7 separate regions of the Homo sapiens genome follow, and all the other regions are linked to region 1. The links are contacts of gene promoters, found by promoter capture Hi-C in blood cells and fetal thymus (Javierre and others, 2016). All regions are on one chromosome and are shown on one strand. Each heading gives the region's core, a stretch centred on a gene start or on the middle of the fragment in contact. The rest is flanking DNA. Distances are from core to core; before and after follow the strand shown.

Region 1 (3,221 bases), core at 479-2,978:
TCCTGAGAGATTCTGATGGGGTACAAGTGTGCTGACCAACGTCCTAGATACAGTGGGCCCTTGAACAATATGGGGGCTAGGGATATCAACCCTGTGCAGTCAGAAATCTACGGATACCTTCTGACTCTCCCAGAATGTAACTGCTAGTAGCCTACTGCTGACCAGAAGTCCTACCAATAACATACAGTCATTTAGCACGTATTTGGTATGTTACATGATTATATACTGTATTCCTGCAATAAAGTAAGCTAGAGAAAGTGTTAGGAAAATCATAACGACAAAATATATTTATTATTCATTAAGTGGAAGTGGATCATCTTAAAGATCTTGATCTTCATTGTCTTCACGTTGAGTTGGCTGAGGAGGAGGGGGCTTGATCTTGCTGTCTCAAGAGCAGCGGAGTCATAAGAAAATGCACATTTAAGTGGCCCCATGCAGTTCAAATCCATGTTGCTCAAGGCTCAACTGTACACCGAACTGAAAAATGATTCCATTTTTAGTAGGAAATGGCCTACTCTAAGTCCTACTGCTTCCCTTTGCACTTGATGGCAAGGGTCTTTAACTGTGTCAGTGGAGCTGGTTTGGCTCCACTGATAGAGACTCCCTGACCATCTGATAGGCCACTTTTGTTAGAGGAGAAGGTACCCCCTTGCCTACCTGTTCTTTTCTTACTTCATGGGTCTTGATTCCTGACTCAGGAGCACCCATTACAGAAAAGCCCTGGGACTAGATCTAATTTTATTTAATGAAAAACCTATGGAGCATTTACTCTTGCTTCTAATAAATTAACAAGTCAGGGCTTTCTTCTGAATAGGAGGGTCTCTTGACTCTTTGATATTTGACTTTTGAACCAGACTAGATGAGGCAGAGCTTCAGCACATATTTTACCAGTGTCTTCAGCAAATGCCTTTCTCTTTGCAAAGCTCCATATTACTACCAAAAATTAACCCAACTAAATTGTAATTTCTACTCACCCACATTTATTGAGTACTGTGTTTCCTTGAAAGATCTCAAACAAGGCACCTTCTTGCAAGATCTTCACCACCAGACCTTCATGATAGTCACCTCCTCATTAGGCTGAGACGCATACACAGTGATTACGTTCAGACACAGGGACTCCTGTGTCTTAAGACCTTGTGTGACCCTTGTAATTAAAGCATTACACTTTGCAAAGGCTGACAGTGGTATAGGGGCTGTCTGAAACTATTCAGCCATAGCCTGGTCTCTGCTTTCTTTTTACAAATGGGAGGTTGGCTAAGGCAGACACAGGGATGGCTAAGAGGGATAAAGGACGTGACTTCCATAGAACCTTTTGTTCCTAGAGGAACCTCTCCATGAAACACACAGTGAAACTAGATTAAACCAAAAAACGCCCTCAGCTCCAGCAGATCCTGAGCTACAAAGCACCTCTTCCCTACCGAGCCTTCTCACCCATGCGCACTGAGTTTCTGAGTATCAGAAAGTCAGGTTTCTGAATCCCTAGAGAAAGTAAAAATTTCCTTGGACACAATGGGTTTTCTTTGCTTCCTGCATGACAGTCACGAAGGGGAATCTGAAATAGAGAACTTGAATATGCGGCTTGCTGAAGGGAAGTGTACTGTACAGTAGCCCCCCTTCTCCACGGGGGATCCATGTCAAAATCCCCAGGGGATGCCTAAGACTGCGGATGGGACCGAACCCTGTATACGCTTGCCTTTAATGCCTTTTCCATTTCAGCTCGGCACTTAGCCCACACTGTGGCTGTAACTTTTGTAGTTTTAGGTACAGCAGCAAAACTAGCACAAATTTCTTTGTCCTTTTTCACAATTTCATGGATAGAAGATTGATTCTTACTGTAGATCTTAGCAATCTCAGCATACTTTTTTTTTTCTTGAGAACTTTCACCTTTTAACTAAAGGAAGGACTTCATGGCTGGTTTTTGGCATATCCAGATTGCCAGCATCATACTCTTGGAACTTTGAGGCCATTGTGAAGTCAAATAATAGTTCCTGCCAGGCACAGTGGCTCACACCTGTAATCCCAGCATTTTGGGAGTCCAAGGCAGGTGGATCACTTGAGCTCGGGAGTTTGAGACTAGCCTGGGCAACATGGCAAAACTCTGCCTCTACAAAAAACACAAAAATTCACCGGTCACGGTGGCACATACCTGTAGTCCCAGCTACTCGGCAGGCTGAGGTGGGAGCATGGCTTAAGCCCAGGAGGTGGAGGTTACAGCGAGCCAAGATCATGCCACTGCACTCCAGCCTGGGCGACAGAGCCAGCCTCTGTCTCAAAAATAAAAAAGGAACCTAAGCACTGAGACCCCCTGACAGTAGATCTGGTAACTGAGATGGCCACTAAGTGACTGGTTGGTGGTGGGGGTGTCTACAGCGTGGAGATGCTGGACCCCGAGAGAGAGGGTTTATGACCCAGGCAGGATGGAGCAGGACAGCACAAGATCTCCTCACACTACTCAGAATGACTCACAATTTAAAACTTATACATTGTTTATTTCTGGAATTTTCCATATAATGTTTCTGGACCATGGTTGACCACAGGTAAATGAAACCTTGGAAAGCTAAAACCTTGGATAAGGGGGGACTACTGTAATATAAAGTTTACAGTTCCTGGGGTGAAAGCTCAGGCAGACCCTATCTATGCATTATTACAACGTACCATCAATTCAAAACCATAAATTTGCAGAAACATCGTTGCTTTAATTCCTAAAATATTGAATATGAATAATAAAAATAATATATGCTTTGTCTTAGAAGCACCTTTTTAATATGATTGATGTGTATTGATCTGTTTCTTCATTCTAACATGAACATTTCTGTAACAGTCATTTCCCCTGAAATATCTAACCTGTGGGTACCTGAGACAGCTTGTCAGTTAGGAAGAACAGTGGTGGCGATAGCCACGTAGGGCTGGTTTGGTCGTGAGTGCAAGTGTGGTTGCAGCAGCTAGAGCAGAGGACTGTGTGGAGAACATGGGTCAGGTCAGAAGGCAGTAGCCAGGAGGGATGCAGAGTCGAGAGAGAATTTGTTGATTGGAATGACTCAGGTTGACTTTCAGGATGAAGAGAAGGGGCCAATAGAGAGGGAAGAGAGGACAGTTGATGAGGCAGGCTCCAAGAGAGGAGGGCAAAGCGAGATCAGGGGCTCCAGTGAAATGCCTGAGTGTGATGAGAAGAGCGCTGTCTTGTGAGGCTAGAGAGGGAACCAAGGATGGGTGGGCCTGGG
Region 2 (3,221 bases), core at 522-3,021, 860 kb before region 1:
AGGCAGGAAGCTCCTGGATAGATACTCTGGGGTTCAAGTCCAATGCTGACCCGCAGTTGGCCCTTGACCTTGTTCAAGGCCCTTATCTAGATTGTGCCTTATTTTTCTCACCCATCAAAAGGAGGATGGACAAGTTTCTTCCTGCCAGTTGACATTCCAGAGTCTAGAAAGGAATTATTGCCCTCAAGTAAGACGACCTTGGGGAATTCAGAAATAAAAAGTATATAGCTTTTTGAGCTCTAAGTTATTTTGGTCCATTTGAGCTCAATTTGACCAGAGATTGAAGATAAAAGCTCTGCCTCCCCCAAACTTATTGGTACAGCCTGCACTCAATTGGTTTTACCGCCTTCTCCTGACATTAAGGGAGATGTTTTTGGTTGTGTGGTGTTGACCCTTTAGGTCCTCAGAAGGGGCGGCACCCTCATGGTGTCTCTGCCTGCAGCAGGGAGTGCTACCAGGCACTTTGTTCCAGTGACTTATGATGGACACAGCACAGCGCCTAGGGGTTAGGATTCTAAAATAATTCAGGTGTATGGAGACGCAGAACCTAAAAGAACTCAGGAGAAAGAGAAGGTAGATATCCTAAATTTTAGTCTGATTTTGACTCAGAAGTGGATACCTGATTTTGGCCTACATTTCACCTCTTTCAGTTTTTTTCTGCTCCATTTGGGTTCCCTGCTCACTTGGAACCCTCAAGCTGGCTTGCAAATGCCCAGAGCCACAGTGCTCTCATAGGGTCTGCCTGTTCTAGGGCCCATCAGCCAGCAGTCCAGCAGGGATGACCAGTGAGCCCAAGAAAACAAGCAGTGCTGATGTCAGATGTGTAGCCCTTCTCAAGTGCTATACATTTTAAGAAATGCCTTCACTGGGCATGGTGGCTCATGCCTGTAATCCCAGCACTTTGGGAGGCCAAGATGGGCGGATCACGAGGTCAGGAGTTGGAGACCAACCTGGCACAACATGATAAAACCCTGTCTCTACTAAAAATACAAAAATTAGCTGAACGTGGTGGTCACACACCTCTAATCTCAGCTACTCAGGAGGCTGAGGCAGGAGAATCGCTTAAACCCGGAAGGTGGAGGTTGCAGTGAGCTGAGATCCTGCCATTGCACTCCAGCCTGGGTGACAGTGAGACTCTGTCTCAAAAAAAGAAAGAAAGAAAAAGAGAGAGAGAGAAAGAGAGAGAGAGAGAGAAAGAAAGAAAGAAAAAGAAAGAAAGAAAAAAGAAAGAAAATGTCTTCTTCAGACACCTCAACTACAAAGGAGTCAGCCAGTCAAGAGAATTTCTCCTCTACCAGGAAGAGAATATGGGTATAGGAGAAGCTTGGAGTCTCTCTGCCACCCCTCATGTTCTCTGGACAAAGTCCCAAGCTGTGCGTTTGAATCATCAGTGTCTACTTGTCCTGCAGAACATCAGGAATTTACCAGGTAATCTGGTGACATGCCTGCACCAGAGGACTGGGAGAATCCTTACCGTTAAACCTCTTCTCCCCACCCCTGAACACATAAATACACTTTTTAAGCTTCCTAACGCTGTACTCTGATCATGGTGCCCACCCCCTTGGACAGCATAAATTTCCCAGTGACCTCCAATTACCTGCCGCTAAAGTCCAGGCCCCTTAGTGTGGCATGTACGCACCTCCTCACCTATCCTCCATCTTTCCATTTCCCCCCAGGCCGCTTACCTGTGGCCCACATGCACCACTCACCATGCCCCACACTCTCGAGTCATCAGTGCCACTTCCTCCTGGAAGCCTTCTTTCCCTGGACACCTCAGCCAGCCATCTGTCTCGTCCCTGAGAGCCCTAACCTCTCCGCTGACTTTTGTCACCCTTCCCTGTGTTAAGGTGATCGAGATGCAGAACTCCCAGTGGTCTTTGATGCCTCCTCTCCTCTCCCACCCACACCCCATCTGTTGCCAGGCCTGTTGATTTTCCCCTTCAGGTGCCAACTCTTCTTTCATTGTATTAGTTTCCTATTGCTGTTGTAACAGATTATCGCAAACATGGTGGTTTAAATTAAGCTTGTCCCTGCAGCCTGTGGGCCACATGTGACCTGGGATGACTTTGAATACGACCCAACACAAATTTGTGAGCTTTCTTAAAACATGAGATTTTTTGGCGATTTTTTTTTTTTTCCCTTTAGCTTATCAGCTGTTGTTAGTGGATTTTATGTGTGGTCCAAGACAATTCTTCTTCCAGTGTGGGGCCAGGGAAGCCAAAAAAACTGGACACCCTTGGTTAAGTTAACACAGATTTGTTAACTTATGCTTCTGCAGTTTGGAAGTCTGACCTAGGTTTTGTGGGCTGAAACCAAGGTGTTTACAGGGATGGAGAGTGTTCTTTCTGGCAGTTCTAGGGGTGATCTGTTTGCTTGCCTGTTTCAGCTTCTAGAGGCTGCCCACATTCTTTGGCTCATGGCTCCTTATCCATCTTCAAAGCCAGACCCAGTGGGCTGAATTCTTCTCCCCATTGCTGCCATCTCTCGGGTTCTGTTGCTTCTGCCACCCTTTTCCACTTAGAAGCACCCTTGTGATTACGTTGGCCCCACCTGGATAACCAGGGCCAGTCGCCCCAACTCAGGGTCAGCTGATTAGCAACCTTCATTCCACTTTGCCATGTAACCTGACATATCAATAAATACTGGGTATAAGGACGTGGACATCTTTGGGGGCCATTATTCTGCATACCCATCCACTGTTATAGATTCAGGTTTGAACTCTTGGAATGACCATCTAATGGGCTGAGTTCCCTCATTGCCTCTCATGTTATGTGCTGCCAGCATAGATATTAAGATGTACATTCTATCATCTAGACCTGTTGGTTCCAAAAACATCTCTTGGATCTGTCCTTTTCTTTTTGTCTCCATTGCCCCTACCCTAGTGGCAAACAATCCTGTGAAAAAGGATTGTTTACATGTATGGGTGCCCCTCCAGGCAATATTCAAGTGTACTCTTCGAGGCTGTTTTAGTACATTCACCATATTGTGCAACCATCACCTCCATCTAGTTCCAAAACATTTTCATCGCCCTAAAGGAGAACTCTATCCATTGAGCGGCCATTCCCCATTCCCTCCTCTCCTCAACCCCTGGCAACCACCAGTCTGTCTTCTGTCTCTGTGCATTTACCATTCCTTTGTATGGATATAGCACTACATTTTGTTTATTTTTTAAATTAAATTTAATTTTTTAGAGACAGGATGTAGCTCTGTCATCCAGGTTG
Region 3 (3,221 bases), core at 202-2,701, 830 kb before region 1:
CTGTTCTCCATAGCGGTTGTACTAAATTACATTCCCATTAACAGTGTACGATGGTTTCCTTTTTTCCATATCCTCGCTAGCATTTGTTATTGCCTATCTTTTAGATAAAAGTCATTTTAGGCCGGGTGCAGTGGCTCACGCCTGTAATCCCAGCACTTTGGGAGGCTGATGCGGGTGGATCACGAGGTCAGGAGATCGAGACCATCCTGGCCAACATGGTGAAACCCCGTCTCTACTAAAAAAATACAAAAACTTAGCTGGGCGTGGTGGCGGGTGCCTGTAGTCCCAGCTACTTGGGAGGCTGAGGCAGGAGAATGGTGTGAACACAGGAGGCAGAGCTTGCAGTGAGCTGAGATTGCACCACTGCACTCCAGCCTGGGCGACAGAGCAAGACTCTGTCTCAAAAAAAAAAAAAAAAAAAGTCATTTTAATGGGGTGTGATATCTTACCGTAGTTTTGATTTGCATTTCTGTGGTGATCAGTGATGTTGAGCACCTTTTCATATGCCTGTTTGCCATTTGTATGTCTTCTTCTGAGAAATATCTGTTCAGATCTTTTGCCCAGTTTTTAAATTAGATTATTAAATTTTTTTTTTCCTATTGAGTTGTTTGAGCTTCTTATATATCCTGGTTATTAATCCTTTCTCAGATGGATGGTTTGCAAATATTTTTCCCCATTCTGTGGGCTGTCTCTTCACTTTGTTGATTGTTTTCCTTTGCTGTGCAGAAGCTTTTTAACTTGACATGATTCCATTTGTCTATTTTTGCTTCGGTCGCCTGTGCTTTTGGGGCCTTAGGGCAATTTCTGATCCAGGGAGAGGGCTTTCTTTAAGGGGTGTGGGGCATGAATAAGCCACCAGCAATGTCAGGGTATCTTCTTTCCTGTGGCTGAGAAATTCCCTAATTTAAACTTAGGATTCTGTTTGCCATGAACATGCTATTAAAATAGTGGCACCCTGGGACACTGTGGGGTTCAGTGGGCTTTTGTGAGCTATCCTGAGGTCCTAACCATCATTTGTGACATTTTTTCCATGGGGAAAAATTCATTTTCAGTTCCAAAGAAGCAACTTATTGGTGAATTATTTTGAGCAGGATCCTGTCATAATCAGGCACTGCTTTTATATTTTTTCTGTATTCAGTAGTAAATCTACTTGTACCTTAAGCAGTCATCGCACTCCTTTAGCCCCTTTTAATTTCTAATGAGGAGTGGTGTGTTATAGGAGTTTGGGGTGGCCTGGGGGAAGAAGGGTTGCTGAAGGATGGAGCTCCTGAAAGGGAGGGTTAATGAGGATGTGTGTCCAAAGGGTGAATGTCTGTGCTCCTCACCAGGGAGAAGGGCATCTTGCATTTACAATGATTTATAATTCACCTGGGTCAGGTTCCTCTGACTATAGGAGCCAATTGGTTACAGAAATCTTTTTTTTTTTTTTTTTTTTTGAGATGGAGTCTCACTCTGGCACCCCGGCTGGAGTGCAGTGGCGTGATCTCGGCTCACTGCAACCTCTGCCTCTTGGGTTCAAGCAATTCTCTGCCTCAGCCTCCTGAATAGCTGGGATTGCAGGTGCCCGCTACCACACCTGGCTAATTTTTTTTTTTTTTTTTTGTATTTTTAGTAGAGACAGGGTTTCACCATCTTGGCCAGGTTGGTATTAAACTCCTGACCTCGTGATCCACCCACCTTGGCCTCCCAAAGTGCTGGGACTACAGGCGTGAGCCACCACGCCTGGCTGGTTACAGAAATCTTAATATAAGGAGCTCGTTACAAAGGCAAGCATACCCTAGATCTGCCTGCTAGCCCTGCGATAGCTACTTCTCAGTACCTTCTGTGCCAGACACTCTTCTAGGCCCAGGGATACAGCAGGGAGAGAGGTGGGCAGGGCCCCTTCCCCTCTGGAGAGGCTGCTGCTGGGCCCTCCGCACGCTCTGGCCTCCCATGCTTTGGGAATGCTTGTCACTGCCAAGCTGTGCAGTGCATCACCATCCATGGTGCTCATGGGCCTGAGGACCACTCTGCCCACACCTAAGGGGGGCTGGGTGGCCAGTGTTTGAAAGGCTTATAAGAAAGATCACAAGAAGTTTCTTCTTGAGAAATGCTACAGTCTTTAAAAACAAAACAAACAAAAAACTACTTAGAATTTTGATAGCCCCAGCTCAAGAAAACAATAGGTAGGACACAAGCTTGTTCATAGGCAGCAGAGAGGTCCAAAGCAATGTGCCTCAAATCAAGACGTGTGGCTCTGAAAAACCTTCTTAGGGAAGGCTCCCGCCCCACCTAGAGCTTCCCAATTCCATAGTATCTAAGGCCTTGCAAAATCTACATCTGTCACACGCCCCCCCGGCCCCGCCCCCCATCACAACTCCATAGTGGGAAGAACTTATTTCAGTGCCTATTTTTCTTGAGGTTTATAAAAACAAAATGTGTGAAGGGAATGTATGCTGATTCTCTTGGGACTAATTAAACAAACAGATTCAGAGAAAGAAAGCAGAGAAGATTTAGGACAGTTAAAATGTAAAAAATGTAATTTTGGGGATAACAGCCGTCAATTTTTCCACTCGAGTGTTTTTCCAAAGGGCAGAGGGCAAGAAGCATCTTAAGTCCTCTCGAAGCTGAGACACATTTCAACTGGAGATATTAGAAGCAAATTTGGTGCCCAAGACAGGTGCCAGATTTTAATTACAGTTGGCATTTCTGAGCATGCTTTTGGCAGAGGTGGCCATCTTGTTGGAAAAGCCATAGATTTTGACACTAGCAGTATGGGTGCCCAGTTGAGAACGATTGCAAATAATTTCCCTCCTATTTTCATCTTGTTGGTTGTGAGAGAAAACTTCAGTGGCTAATATTTAAACAAGATATTCTCTGTTCAGAGGAAACAGTTCATTGGAATTGTCTTGGTGGCTTGGTGTGTTGGCTCTGGGGGTAATAATTTCTATCTTAAAGTCTTTAAAACCAGTTAAAACAATAAAATAGGATATTTCATTATGAGAAATGAAGTTGGCATGCACCAGGTTTTCCATTAAGTTCCAGGTCACAGACAAATAAAGAAAGTATGTTCGGGGGGGAAAAATCCTTTTTAAAAATAATTAGGGAGCTGTCTGTTTTGTTCACCAGATGGAAAATCCGTAGTTGTGGGTGGTCTGTGTTGGAGAGGGCATCTCACAATTGGCAGGACTATGCCTTTAACTTTTCAAGTCCTCGGACAAAAATCTCAACGCCATGGACTA
Region 4 (3,221 bases), core at 449-2,948, 800 kb before region 1:
GTTGGGAGGGGGTGATTGCACCAGATGTTGCTGCCACTGGGTCAGATAATTAGGAAACCAAGAATCGACTATTGAAAGCTGGATGCAATGGTGCTTGTCTATAATTCCAGCCACTCAGGAGACTGAGATGCAAGGATGGCATGAGCCCAGGAGTTCGAGGCTGCAGAGAACAATGATCGCTCCTGTGAATAGCTGCTGCATTCCAGTCTGGGCAACATAGCCAGACCAGACCCTGTCTCTTAAAAAAACAAAAATTGGGCTATTGGATTTAGCCACGTGGGGGTCATGGGTGACCTTGACAAGAGCAGATTTGGTAGAAGCATGGAATGGATTTTTCCTAATATTCCTCCTCTTCAGGGGCAGACAATATTTAAATGAAACCGTATTTGGAGCACTCATCAGGCTTTAATATTGATGCTGCATCTTCTACTGTCACATACATAAAGGGGACCAGGACCACTGCATTACAGATGTGACTATTTCTACCTTATATATGTATGCCCTATATGTGTATATACTTTATGTGTCTATATCAGCTTTATTGAGATATAATTTACATCTCATACAGTTCACCTATTTAAAGTATACAGTTCAATGAATTTAATGGTTTTTAGTCTATTCAGTGTTATGCAACCATCACCATGATTAATTTTATTTCTATCACTGTTTCTTCAGCCCCAAAAGAAACCCTGTTCCCATTAGCAGTCACTCCTCCTTTTCCCCCAAAACCCTCAGTCCTAGGCAACCACTAGTCTACTTTCTGTCTTTCTATATTTGCCGATTCTGGACTCTTCATATACATGGAATCATACGATACGTGGTCTTTTGTGACTGGCTTCTTTCACTTAGTATAATGTTTTCAAGCTTCATCCAAGCTGTAGCATGTGGCAGTACTTCATTCCTTTTTAGGGCCAAATAATATTCCACTGTATGTACTAATATATACCACATTTTATTTATTCATTGATTAGTTGTTGGAAATTTAGGTTGTTTCTACTTTTTAGCTATTATGAATAATGCTGCTATGAACATTTCTGTACACATTGTTGTATGGGTATATTTCTTCTGGGGTTATACTTAGGAATGGAATTAGAATGCAGTAGCATGATCTCAGCTCACTGCAACCTCCACCTCCCGGGTTCAAGTTGTTCTTGTGCCTCAGCCCCCCAAGTAGCTGGGATCACAGGCACTGTGCCTCCACGCCTGGCTAATTTTTTGTATTTTTAGTAGAGATAGAGTTTCATTATGTTGGCCATGCTGGTCTCGAACTCCTACCCTCAGGTGATCTGCCCGCCTCGGCCTCCCATGGTGCTGGGATTACAGGCGTGAGCCACCACCCCTGGCCACAGACTGGCTTCCTTCCTTCCCTCCGTCCGTCCTTCCTTCCTTCCTTCCTTCCTTCCTTCCTTCCTTCCTTCCTTCCTTCCTTTCCTCCCTTTCTTTTTCTTTTTCTATTTCTCTTTCTCTCTCTCTTTCTTCCCTCCTCTCCCCTCCCCTCCTGTCCTCTTCTCTCTTTCTGACAGAGTTTCACTCTTGTCACCCAGGCTGGAGTGCAATGGCGCAATCTCGGCTCACTGCAGCCTCCACCTCATTTGTTCTCATGTCTTAGCCACTCGAGTAGCTGGGATTACAGGCACCTGCCACCAGGCCTGGCTAATTGTTTTTTTAGTAGAGACAGGATTTCGCCATGTTGGCCAGGCTGGTCTCAAACTCCTGACCTCAAGTCACCTCAGCCTCCCAAAGTGCTGGGATTACAGGCATGAGCCACCACACCCAGCCTTCTTCATTCTTTTTTTTTTTGAGGTGGAGTTTTGCTCTTGTTGCCCAGGCTGGAGTGCAATGGCACAATCTCGACTTACTGCAACCTGCACCTCCCAGGTTCAAGCGATTCTCCTGCCTCAGCCTCCCGAGTAGCTGGCATTACAGGCATGCCCCACCACTGGGTGAAAAATGCCCAGCTAATTTTGTATTTTTAGTAGAGATGGGGTTTCTCCATGTTGGTCAGGCTGGTCTCGAACTCTCGACCTCAGGTGATCTGCCCACCTCAGCCTCCCAGAGTGCTGGGATTACAGGCATGAGCCACTGCGCTCGGCCCATCATTCTTAATAATATTCCCAAATGGTGTATAGATAAATACTGCCACAATTTCAGGACTAGAGGTTAAAAAAAAAAAAAGGACAAAGTTGGACAGTAGAGCTGAGAGCACAAATTGTCCCCTTTTTTTCCCAGGTCCTTAGGTTCGTAGACCTGTGTCAGCCATAATTACTGCTGAATGTGACTCCTGTGTATACGGTCATTTTTATTTTTTCTGTTCCTGGAGGTAATGCAATAAGTCACCTCAAAAAGGGCAGAGAATGAGGGAGAGAATCTACCTGCATTGGCGTATTGAAAAGATCAGATTATTTCAGAATCCAGATCATTGTTTACTTTTAGCTGCATAAAAATATCCAAGTAGATTTTCTTATAACCTCTCCAAGATAAAGATGCCAGAAACGGCAGCCAAATACATTGACTTTGAGAGAGGAAAAAAAAAAAGCTTGTAATTGCCGATCACTCCTTAGATTTACTTCTGGGGAGCATCAATTAAAAATCTCAAAACACGTGGCTTTTTCAGTAAAATTATATTAATATGGAGGAAGAGTTTTTATTAAATATGAGTGCACGTGTGTCTGTGTCTGTGTGTGTTTTAAACGTTTCCATAATGAGTTCCCAAGTGCTTTTTTGGCAGTAGTTATTAAAGCTTGTGTGTTTGCGATTTATCTGGCAAAATGCCTTTAGTGAAGAAAGGATATAGTGTTCTCTTGGTTCTTTGCCCAAAGTAATTTTGGAGAAATCTGTGACTGTATTTAGTTCATGTCATTCATTGGAGACAAGTCATTGTAATTACATTTGATCACAATCAGTTTACAGTTGTTTTATCATGTTTTCATGCTGAATATCTACTCAGACATCATAGCAAAATTTAATGGCTACTGTTTTATTTGTACATAAAAAGATTTATAGCCCTTTTTTGCAGTACACATCGGGTTTCAATCATCACTGCTACAGAGTGAGAGGAAAGCTATGGATAAAGAACTATCAGAAATCCTTGACTACATAAAATTTTATTTCAGGTCACCTTGCCATAAAAGATATTGAATGTATTTTGTGGCTTTTCCTCCTGACATGCTAACCGTTGTAGAAGAGTTGCAATATTTGGAGGAAACCGTATGAAATGTGGA
Region 5 (3,221 bases), core at 226-2,725, 780 kb before region 1:
ATTAATTAAGGTTGTTAGTGTGGCCTAATACTAAATTTCAGGAAGCCTCACAGGACACATGAAACAAATCTTTACAACACATATGTGTTTTCATGCTGCTGAACATTTTGAAGACGTTTTGCCATGCTGGAGTTTGTTTGTTTTGTTTGTGTTTTTGTTTGAGGTGCCGTCTTATTCTGTCTCTCAGGCTGGAGTGCAGAGTTCAGTGGCACAATCTTGGCTCACTGCAACCTCCACCTCCCAGGTTCAAGCTATTCTTCTGCCTCAGCCTCCCGAGTAGTGCCTGGCTGCTGTTTTTTTTTTTTAATTGTTAAATTAGATGGGCTCAGTATTACCGTGCCTTGATGGAGTTTCTAGTTGAGGGATCAGTGTCATTTCTGGGTCCCCATCAGAATTACGTTCAAGCTATAAGTAGTTATGCAAAGTCGTAGGTTAAATGATTTGGGAATAAAATGTCATTTGACGTGACAGAAATGAACCCTTGGAGGCCCACATTTCCACTGGGACTTGCTCTCAGTTCCAGTTCTCATGTTAAGTAATTTTATTAACTGAGGCAAGGAGGGGCATGCGGTGACAAGGGAAATATTTTTTGCTAACATTTTAATCCTAATCACAAAATTTATTGTGTGTGGCTTTATATGCATTTGTAGCTATAAAGCCCTGGAAGATGATGAAAGTAAAAATTAGAATGTGTGGTTTTTCTGCCCAGGTGTTATTTAAAGCATTGTATGAATTGTCAAAAAGATTAATTGTTGTTGCTTGCAGCTAAACAGATGATAAATTTTAAAATTATATTATTACTGTGTGTCAGCATAAAAGCTCTGTGTCCCAAGTGTGTCACCTTTTTCTGTTGCTGTTGACAAGGTTCACATTTTATAGCACACCGCCAGAAGGTGTTGACATATATTCAGATTACTGATTAAATGTTTTTAAAACGTGCCACTCAGAAACTAACACTGATGTTCTATGAAAGAGTCATTTTTCGGAGTAAGATTTTTTTTTTCCCTTCATCATTAACATGGAGGAAATGTTAAACACTGACATTTTAAAAAATGAACCTGGGACTGGCGCAGTGGCTCATGCCTGTAATCCCAGCACCTTAGGAGGCCGAGGTGAGCGGATCACCTGAGGTCGGGAGTTCGAGACCAGCCTGACCAACATGGAGAAACCCCGTCTCTATTAAAAATACAAAATTAGCTGGGTGTGGTGGTGGGCACCTGTAATCCCAGCTACTCGAGAGGCTGAGGCAGGAGACTCCCTCGAACCCGGGAGGTGGAGGTTGTGGTAAGCTGAGATCGTGCCATTGCACTCCAGCCTGGGCAATAAGAGCGAAACTCCGGTCTCTAAATAAATAAATAAATAAAAACGTGGCTGGGCGTGGTGGCTCACGCCTGTAATCTCAGCACTTTGGGAGGCTGAGGCAGGCAGATCACGAGGTCAGGAGTTCGAGACCAACCTGGCCAATATGGCGAAACCCCATCTTTACGAAAAATACCAAAAATTAGGTGGGCATGGTGGCACGCGCCTGTAATCCCAGCTACTCAGAAGGCTGAGGCAGGAAAATTGCTTGAACCCGGGAGGCGGAGGTTGCAGTGAGCCGAGATCGCGCCACCGTACTCCAGCCTGGGTGACAGACCAAGACTCCGTCTCAAAAAAAAAAATAAAAATAGGCCAGGCGCAGTGGCTCACGCCTGTAATCCCAGCACTTTGGGAGGCCAAGGTGGGCAGATCACAAGGTCAGGAGTTCGAGACCATCCTGGCTAACAAGGTGAAACCCCGTCTCTACTAAAAATACAAAAAAATTAGCTGGGCGTGGTGGCGGGTGCCTGTAGTCCCAGCTACTCGAGGCTGAGGCAGGAGAATGGCGTGAACCACGGAGGCGGAGCTTGCAGTGAGCCGAGATTGCACCACTGCACTCCAGCCTGGGCGACAGAGCGAGACTCCATCTAAAAAAGTAAAATAAAATAAAATGAAAATAATAAATAAATAAATAAACCTAATGTTACTGCACTTTCCCATTTCAAATTGCAGCCAGCAATGAAAACAGGCATTAGCATTCCCATTTCTTCTCTTCTCCTTCACTGGAAGGGCAACAACAAACACACCCACGGTGTAAAAACAGCACCAAGGCCGGGTGCAGTGGCTCACACCTGTAATCTCAGCACTTTGGGAGGCCGAGGCATGCGGATCACCTGAGGTCGGGAGTTCGAGACTAGCCTGACCAACATGGAGAAACCCCATCTCTACTTAAAATTAGGCGAGCATGGTGGCGCGCGCCTATGATCCCAGCTACTCAGGAGGCTGAGGCAGGAGAATCACTTGAACCTGGAGGCGGAGGTTGCGGTGAGCGGAGATCGCACCATTGCACTCCAGCCTGGGCAACAAGAGAAAAACTCCATCTCAAAACAAAACAAAACAAAACAACAGCACCAAGGAAGGCGCTAAATGGCTACTTGTAAACAACCCAGGTTGGACACTGGACCCACGACAAGGAGGCAAGTTCCGTCCTGTGGTGGTGTTTGTGATGGGAAGTCTGGGGCTTTGACTCCCTCAAGTTTCCAGGCTAACACACACAACTCTTCCCAGCAGCTGAGGGGCCCCGAAGCCTTGATGTCCCTTTCACGTTGAAGGACCTCACTGGTCTTGGCTGTTTGCGTTTTGTGGATGGAGTGGGCCAGTCTTCAGAGAACTCAAATGTGTATTTGCTGCAGGGAGTGATAAGTAAACATAATGCCTCAAGAATCAACATTTGAATGCTTTTCTTTTTGGCGTTAAGGTATAATGGGACACTGGCAATATATGCTGTCTCTCTGAACACAGCATGAAAGAACTTGAAAACAAATGATTTAGTATTCATTACGGAAAAGTTGGATTTTTTTCCCTCTCTGATTGTCAAGATTTCTTCGTCGATGTCAGTTTTCCAGTGTGAATTTTTCCTCTCCACTCAGAGGAAGTTGACGTTGGTTCAGTGATGTTACAGAGGATGCTGTAAGACAGCCAGGAGCCCAGGCCGGTTGTCACTTCATCCCAGCATGGTGCAAAGTTAGAGATGTTGCAGTGACAGCCTTGGGTGCCCTCAGGGGCAACCAAGTCTCTAAATAATCTCTGTGACCAAAAGTACATAGGAGGTTGTAAATATCCCACAACAAAAATAAAGATAGCTGCCATTTCCCAGAACTTAATGCATATCAGGAAATGTTACCTCTTTATATATATTGTCT
Region 6 (3,221 bases), core at 722-3,221, 590 kb before region 1:
CATGAAATAATGTATGTAAAGTGCCAGGCAACAGGCCCCAGACTAGGAACTGCTCAAAAAATTATAGCTATTATTATTACAGTAGCATGGGTGTTAAAAAATTTAACCATGAGGCCATGCGCAGTGGCTCACACCTGTAATCCCAGCACTTTGGGAGGCCGAGGTGGGCAGATCAGCTGAGGCCAGGAGTTCGAGACCAGCCTGGACAACATGGTGAAACCCAGTCTCTACTAAAAATACAAAAAAAATTAGCCAAACGTGGTGGCACGCACCTGTAGTCCCAGCTAGTTGGGAGGCTGAGGCAGGAGAATCGAACCCGGGAGGCGGAGGTTGCAGTGAGCCGAGGTAACACCACTGCACTCCAGCCTGAGCAACAGAGCGAGACTCAGTCTCAAAAAATATATAATAAATATAAAATATAATCATTAAGGAAGATTTCAAACCCTCCTCAAAAATCCAAGTAGCTTTTTGATGAACTGCATTTTTCTAAATCCTGACCAATAGACTATTTTTCATCTCACCTATAGACCCACATGTTAAAAAAATACCACCTAAATTATAGGTGGCTATGTGAGAGCCTGGGGATATTCACGCTAGGCAGTCTCATTCATAACACTACCATCCTCCATTTGCAGTGATGCAGGAAACAAGAAAAATGCTACATTTCGTTTTGCACCTTAAGCTTCATTAAAGAAAATCAAGCAAAACCTGCGACCATAGAAGAAATAATCTCCCAGTCTTGAAAAACTACATGAAGTGTTTTTTATCTTTGATGTGCACATGGAACCCAAAGCAGGTTCGGGAACATGGCACAGACTCACAGCCACCGTTTGGATTCTCTGCGCACCGTTTTGATTTCCTGTGCATCTATGCTAATTTCGTCTCCCCAGCCTATTGTTTAAACCCTAGCAGGACAGATGTGCTGTTTTACAGGGCCATAACCCACTTGGTGGGTGGATAACCAAGAGGCCTTTGGTCTTCATCATTTACTCCAATAAGAAAACTAGACGATTGCCTTGTAAAACAGCATGTGACCCAGGCCCGGATTTCCACGTAACGCCAACCTACAGGACCACCTCGGAACTTCCAACCAAATTAGGAAAATTCCTCCTGGTCACAGAGGTGACCAAAATTAGCTCGAGGCTGAATGAAATTATGGAAAGGACAATCTAGGGGTAAAAACAGTAAAAACAAGAGGGCTGGGAAGTGACTTACAGTACAGGAATTTAGGTTTAGGCCACACAGGTGTTCATGTGAGTAAGAGTCATCATTTCTAAGGCTGAAAAGGTTGGCCACTGCTGGTAAAAATTCTAATCCTAGTAGGCTTAGAATCTCTCTCAATCAAAAGATAAATCCCAAAAGTCATTGCTAAGGATTCCCCCCATTTTTCTTTACCTCCATCCTATGTATAACCGTAAGTTACTACCTCTCAGCCCTCATCATGAGAGCCCAGCACTCCTGTCCCGGCAGCCCTGAGTGACATCAGCATTGACTGTTGGGAATTGGTACTTGTGAAATCCAGAAATGGGCTACAATAGATGCAAATGGACCATCATCAATGTGCATTAGGATTGCCCCAGCCACCCCCAGATCTCGAAGGACCCCTGCAACCCAGTCACACCAGCATCCTTGCCAACAGGTCGAAGCAGGGTGGATTAGGATGAAGGGATATCATCGTAAGCAGCAAAAGGAAGTGATGAAAAGAACACAAATAACCAGACATTAACTTTGGGTTCTGAGCATGCTGCTTTCTGTCCGTTTAATCTATCTTTTGCTGATGCACTTAAAGAAGCTACCTTGTCTTCTTAATGTGGGGATCTCTGATGAAGGCTTGAAGCTCTGAGACCCAAGCATCAGCCCCAGCTCTGGCTTTCCCTAGTCACATGACCTTGGAAGATCACTTCTTTTTTTTTCCTTCTTTTACTACTCTGAGCCTCAGTTTCCTCATCTAAAACAGGGCTTAGGTTACTTGACACAGTCTATATAAGTATGGTAGAAGTTTTTTAAAAAATGAGTCTGTAAAATGGGACTATTCCAAGAGATTTCAGAGATGCCTTCCCATCTTAACATTCAACAGATCTATGATTCCTTTGTTACAGCTCATGTCCCTGGTATTTCTTTCTTTTTTGAGATGGAGTCCCGCTCTGTCACTCATGCTGGAGTGCAGTGGTGTGACCTTGGCTCACTGCAACCTCCACCTCCTGGGTTCAAGCAATTCTTCTGCCTCAGCCTCCCGAGTAGCTGGGAGTACAGGCGTGCACCACTATGCCCAGCTAATTTTTTTGTATTTTTATTAGAGACAGGGTTTCACCGTGTTGGCCAGGCTGGTCTTGAACTCCTGACTTCAGGTGATCCGCCCGCCCCGGCCTCCCAAAGTGCTGGGATTACAGGTGTGAGCCACTGCGCCTGGCCGTCCCTGGTCACTCTAATCGTCTTCTGTATGGGTTTACCAACAGACTCATCTCTTTGTACCCTGTACAATCCTACCTTGCATTTTCTCATAACCTTATCATGTTACCTCTCAATTATGTTACAGCAAGGAGGTAAGATTTTGCCATTAGCCTGATGGTACAATTTTTTAAAACAATAATCAGTTGCCAGAATATATTCTTGCTTTTAAAGTTCTACATAATATTTCAAAAATATATAGGGAAGTATTTAGATTTTCCTTCCACAGCTGTTTTCTGCTTGATTTCAAGAGTTAACTGAACAGTTTGCTGTCTTGTGTCCAATGTGTTTCTCCTCTCCATTAAAATGCTGAAGATTTTTATTTTTTTCCCCTCTTTAGGGGGAAAAAAGAAGTGTTTCCTCTGTAATTTACTTTGGCTTTCTCAAAAGTTGGGCGGGAAAGTCAGTATAATTCAGGTGGAATCTAAAATGTTCTTGTTGCACAAGTGTGCACAGAAAGGAAACCTATAATTTCGAGTATTCTTTCAGGAAGTTTGTATTCTCTGTTTTCCAGGGGGCCTTTACTTTCCAAGGGAGTATGATCGACATGCCATTACTGAAGCAGGCCCAGAACACTGTTACGCTTGCCACCTCCATCAAGGAAAAATGATCTGTTAAATGAAGCTGTCATCAGGTGGGCTGAACATATACAGTGGGGTTCTTAAAGACAAACCACAATACTCAAAGCAACTTGTTAGGATGCCAGATTGGGACCTGACTCCATTTACAGTTCATGTTAATCACAATTTTGTTGTTGTTGTCTCACTGGCCAG
Region 7 (3,221 bases), core at 322-2,821, 570 kb before region 1:
CCAGGACCTAGGATCACAGATGCATACCTGTTTTTCTTTTTTTTTAATAAAGGGAATGCTGAGCTGCAATGACCATTACTGTAGAGTTACAACAAGAGGGTAAAGTTCATACATGGCGACCTGTGTCAAATCCGTCCATTGATCTGCCCTCCAGCACACATTTACTGAGCTTCTGTTACGTGCCTGTGGTGAGTGACATGACATCACTGTGTTAGTGACTGGCCAAAAGGGTGTCTTGAAGCCGCCCTAGGGCCCTTCTGGCCCTGTTCTAGGAAGTGAAAGCTGGGGGCAGTGGAGCCCTTTCTTATTCTGTCCACCCTCCCCCACCTCCATTCTGTTCCAATTATTCTTCATTATCCTTCAAAGCAAACTTGCAAGTCAGCCAAGAACCGAGCTCCAGGTGTGAGACCAAAAAAAGAAAGAAAAGGGGGAAGAAATCTAAAAGTACCTTAGATGGAAATTTTCATGCAGCCATAAAAAAGTGTTTTTTGGTTGTTGTTTTTGCTTTTTTTTTTTTAGATCAAACATGTTTTGTTGTTGTTGTGGTGGTGGTTGTGGTTGTTTTTGAGACAGGGTCTCTGTCTGTCGCCCAGACTGGAGTACAGCTGCACGATCTCGGCTCACTGCAGCCTCGACCTCCCCTGCTCAAGCCATCCTCCCACCTCAGCCAGGACCCCACCCAAGTAGCAGGAACTACAGGCCTGTGCCACCACTCCCAGATGATTTTTGTATTTTTTGTAGAAACGGGGTCTCACCATGTTGCCCAGTCTGTTCTTGAACTCCTGGGCTCAAGTGATCCACCTGCCTCAGCCTCCCAAAGTGCTAGGATTACAGGCATGAGCCATGACACTCTGCCAGATTCAACATGTTTAATGGCAAAAGGGAAAATGCTGAGAAGTTTGCCTCCATTTGGTTATTTCACTTTGTTCCTTTTATACTTTCCTGTACATTCCAAATGGACTACAATGAGCACCTGTCACTGTGATCATCAAGAAATAAAATAAACAATAAAATAAGTAAATGTCACTACAGGGGATTTTGGAGTTTCCCTATTTTCTAAAATGGACATTTAAAAGTTTTCAAATCAGAAAAATGTCTGTTAAGATTTCATTTTATTGTTGTTTTACATAAGAATAATCAGATATGAGGAAAATAAGTGTGAGTGAAAATCAGAATTTGAATGGGAACTGAAGGACCCCCAGAGCTTTTTTGAGTTTTCTTTTTTTTTTCTTTTTTGAGACAAAGTCTTGCTCGGTCACCCAGTGGCGCGATCTCGGCTCAATACCACCTCCGCCTCCCGGGTTCAAGCAATTCTCCTGTCTCAGCCTCCTGAGTAGCTGGGATTACAGGTGCCTGCCACCACACCCAGCTAATTTTTGTATTTTTAGTAGAAATGGGGTTTCTCCATGTTGGCCAGGCTGGTCTCGAGCTCCTGACCTCAGGTGATCCACCCTCCTCAGCCTCCCAAAGTGCTGGGCTTACAGGCGTGAGCCACCGTGCCCGGCCTTGAGTTCTTATTATTACAAGATGACTCAGATTTGGGCTGGAGAGCATTTTAAAACATTAAAACATCTTCTGCCTAACAAATGCATTAATCCTTTCTTGAGGATTAAGAAAGAATTAATCCCTCCAAGGATGGGCAGCCCCACAGCGGGTGGCTTGGAAAATACTTGGCTTCGTGCATCTGCAGACTTACTGTTTTCTTTGACCCTTTGCGTCTACATCTGGGAATTTATCCTAAAGAAATTCTGTAATCCAGAATATCAAAAAAGCCTCATTGGCAAATACTACTTTATTCACAGTTGCATCATGTAAATTACAGAGGTATGGCTAAGTCAATCGGGAGACATTTACTTGATGGAATATTAGACAGCCACTAAAACTGGTGCTTCTGAAGGTGATAAGAAAGTGCTTTTCCTATAAAGTCAAGTTCTGATGCATACCAAGCTGCAAATGCGAGTCTGGAGCTGAACTGCCTGGCTCTCCTGCTTCTTAGGCTTCTTAGCTAAGTAACCTTGAGCAAGATCCTAACATCCCTGTGCCTCAGTCTTATTATCTGTGAAATGGGGGTAATAATACTACCTACCTCCTAAGGTTTCTTTTGAGCCTGAAATGAGTTAATACATACAAAGCACAGTGGCCTGGCACACTGTAGGCACTGGACAAGTGTTGGTTCCTATAATTATTATCTGTGATTATAACCATGTTAAAAAGAAATCACAACACTGGAAAAAAAAAACAATAAAATGTTAGCAATTGTAGTGTTTGGGTGATAAGACTACTGGTGATTTTTATTTTTTCTTCTTTTTACATTTTTGTATTTCCAAATTTTTCACTAACTATACATCAATTTTTTTTAATTGGGCATGATGGGTCACACCTGTAATCCCAGAGACTCAGGAGGCTGAACCAGGAGGATTGCCTGAGGCCAAGAGTTCAAAACCAGCCTGGCAACGTAGCATGACCCCTCTATCTCTAAAAAATAAATAAATAAAGCTGGGCATGGTAGTGCTTGCTTGTAGTCCCAGCTACTCAGGAGACTGAGGTGGGAGGATCAGTTTGAGCTCAGGAGTTTGAGGCCAGCCTGGCCAGCATAGCAAGACTCCATCTCAAAAACAATTAAAAAGACCCTGAATAGAGAGCCGCAGCACGTGGTTTCATATGATTTGAAACATCCAGGTGCCAAGACTTTGGGCATGGGCTTGCGAGGGACTCCTCCTGACTGCACCCCATGGGCACCTCTCATCCCGGGGAGGACGGTCAGGCTGTGCTGAGTGGTGAACAGCACTCGGATTGGCAAAAAAGTAACCTGAGCTCCAGTCACCTGTTCCCTGCAGGTTCTTGGAAAGAGCTTTTTCCTTCTCTACAAGGAGGAATCTGATGCAACTGACATCCTCAATAGCTACAGAGAACTTGCAAAGGAGTAGAGAGAATGTTTGAGGTCCAGCCTTGGTGTAGAGAAGCGGCAGAAACAGAAATCCCAAAAGGTGTCATGCTTGGCTCCAGCTCTGTGCTCTCAGAACTCCCTTCCCTCTGGGCAGAGGCCCATCTGCTCTGTTTACACACCTGGACCTGGTGTGAAGGGAGGTTTGGAGGAGGGTAGCTCCCTGACCATTTGTGGAATCGTTCCTGCTTCCAAGCAGCATGCTACAGGCCAGCCTTCAAAGAAAGACCAGAAGCCAAGTGTACTCTGTCATCACTTAATAATGCTTGAAGCTTTT

What was found. The method cuts DNA at HindIII sites, captures the fragments that hold promoters and counts their contacts. A CHiCAGO score of 5 or more calls a contact.
Region 2: a fragment that was not itself captured here is called in contact with the fragment with the promoter of PCCA-AS1 in region 1 in 2 of 17 cell types (naive CD8 T cells and non-activated CD4 T cells); the score reaches 7.3 in naive CD8 T cells.
Region 3: a contact is called between a fragment that was not itself captured here and the fragment with the promoter of PCCA-AS1 in region 1, in 5 of 17 cell types (activated CD4 T cells, fetal thymus, erythroblasts and 2 more). The highest score is 6.5, in activated CD4 T cells.
Region 4: a contact is called between a fragment that was not itself captured here and the fragment with the promoter of PCCA-AS1 in region 1, in 4 of 17 cell types (total CD4 T cells, non-activated CD4 T cells, fetal thymus and 1 more). The highest score is 7.2, in total CD4 T cells.
Region 5: a fragment that was not itself captured here is called in contact with the fragment with the promoter of PCCA-AS1 in region 1 in 1 of 17 cell types (non-activated CD4 T cells); the score reaches 5.8 in non-activated CD4 T cells.
Region 6: a contact is called between a fragment that was not itself captured here and the fragment with the promoter of PCCA-AS1 in region 1, in 8 of 17 cell types (activated CD4 T cells, erythroblasts, fetal thymus and 5 more). The highest score is 8.6, in activated CD4 T cells.
Region 7: a fragment that was not itself captured here is called in contact with the fragment with the promoter of PCCA-AS1 in region 1 in 1 of 17 cell types (monocytes); the score reaches 5.3 in monocytes.

The regions. Positions count from the first base shown.
Region 1 is chr13:100,479,287-100,482,507 of GRCh38, forward strand. It overlaps PCCA-AS1 (PCCA antisense RNA 1), which reads right to left and starts at 1,729. Exons shown (of 5, transcript NR_047686.1): 1 at 1,694-1,729. All of the region lies in intron 21 of PCCA (propionyl-CoA carboxylase subunit alpha), which reads left to right. It overlaps LOC107984574 (a long non-coding RNA gene), which reads right to left and starts at 1,921. Exons shown (of 3, transcript XR_007063850.1): 1 at 1,834-1,921; 2 at 975-1,144; 3 at 261-477. The HindIII fragment of the contact is 6,979 bases long and covers 1-3,221 here.
Region 2 is chr13:99,619,632-99,622,852 of GRCh38, forward strand. All of the region lies in intron 1 of CLYBL (citramalyl-CoA lyase), which reads left to right. Among named protein-coding and RNA genes, the nearest start is that of CLYBL, 15 kb to the left of the region's middle. The HindIII fragment of the contact is 500 bases long and covers 1,522-2,021 here.
Region 3 is chr13:99,645,096-99,648,316 of GRCh38, forward strand. All of the region lies in intron 1 of CLYBL (citramalyl-CoA lyase), which reads left to right. Among named protein-coding and RNA genes, the nearest start is that of MIR4306, 3.6 kb to the left of the region's middle. The HindIII fragment of the contact is 1,448 bases long and covers 728-2,175 here.
Region 4 is chr13:99,674,811-99,678,031 of GRCh38, forward strand. All of the region lies in intron 1 of CLYBL (citramalyl-CoA lyase), which reads left to right. LOC124903199 (a long non-coding RNA gene) reads left to right here. Exons shown (of 2, transcript XR_007063848.1): 1 at 1-3,221. Among named protein-coding and RNA genes, the nearest start is that of CLYBL-AS2, 15 kb to the right of the region's middle. The HindIII fragment of the contact is 1,672 bases long and covers 863-2,534 here.
Region 5 is chr13:99,698,043-99,701,263 of GRCh38, forward strand. The region is part of intron 1 of CLYBL (citramalyl-CoA lyase); the gene reads left to right. Among named protein-coding and RNA genes, the nearest start is that of CLYBL-AS2, 8.7 kb to the left of the region's middle. The HindIII fragment of the contact is 8,716 bases long and covers 1-3,221 here.
Region 6 is chr13:99,888,356-99,891,576 of GRCh38, forward strand. It overlaps CLYBL (citramalyl-CoA lyase), which reads left to right. Exons shown (of 9, transcript NM_206808.5): 8 at 2,963-3,082. The coding sequence ends at 3,058. All of the region lies in intron 1 of CLYBL-AS3 (CLYBL antisense RNA 3), which reads right to left. Among named protein-coding and RNA genes, the nearest start is that of CLYBL-AS3, 67 kb to the right of the region's middle. The HindIII fragment of the contact is 2,582 bases long and covers 681-3,221 here.
Region 7 is chr13:99,905,218-99,908,438 of GRCh38, forward strand. The region is part of intron 1 of CLYBL-AS3 (CLYBL antisense RNA 3); the gene reads right to left. It also overlaps a transcript of CLYBL not described here. Among named protein-coding and RNA genes, the nearest start is that of CLYBL-AS3, 50 kb to the right of the region's middle. The HindIII fragment of the contact is 3,286 bases long and covers 1-3,214 here.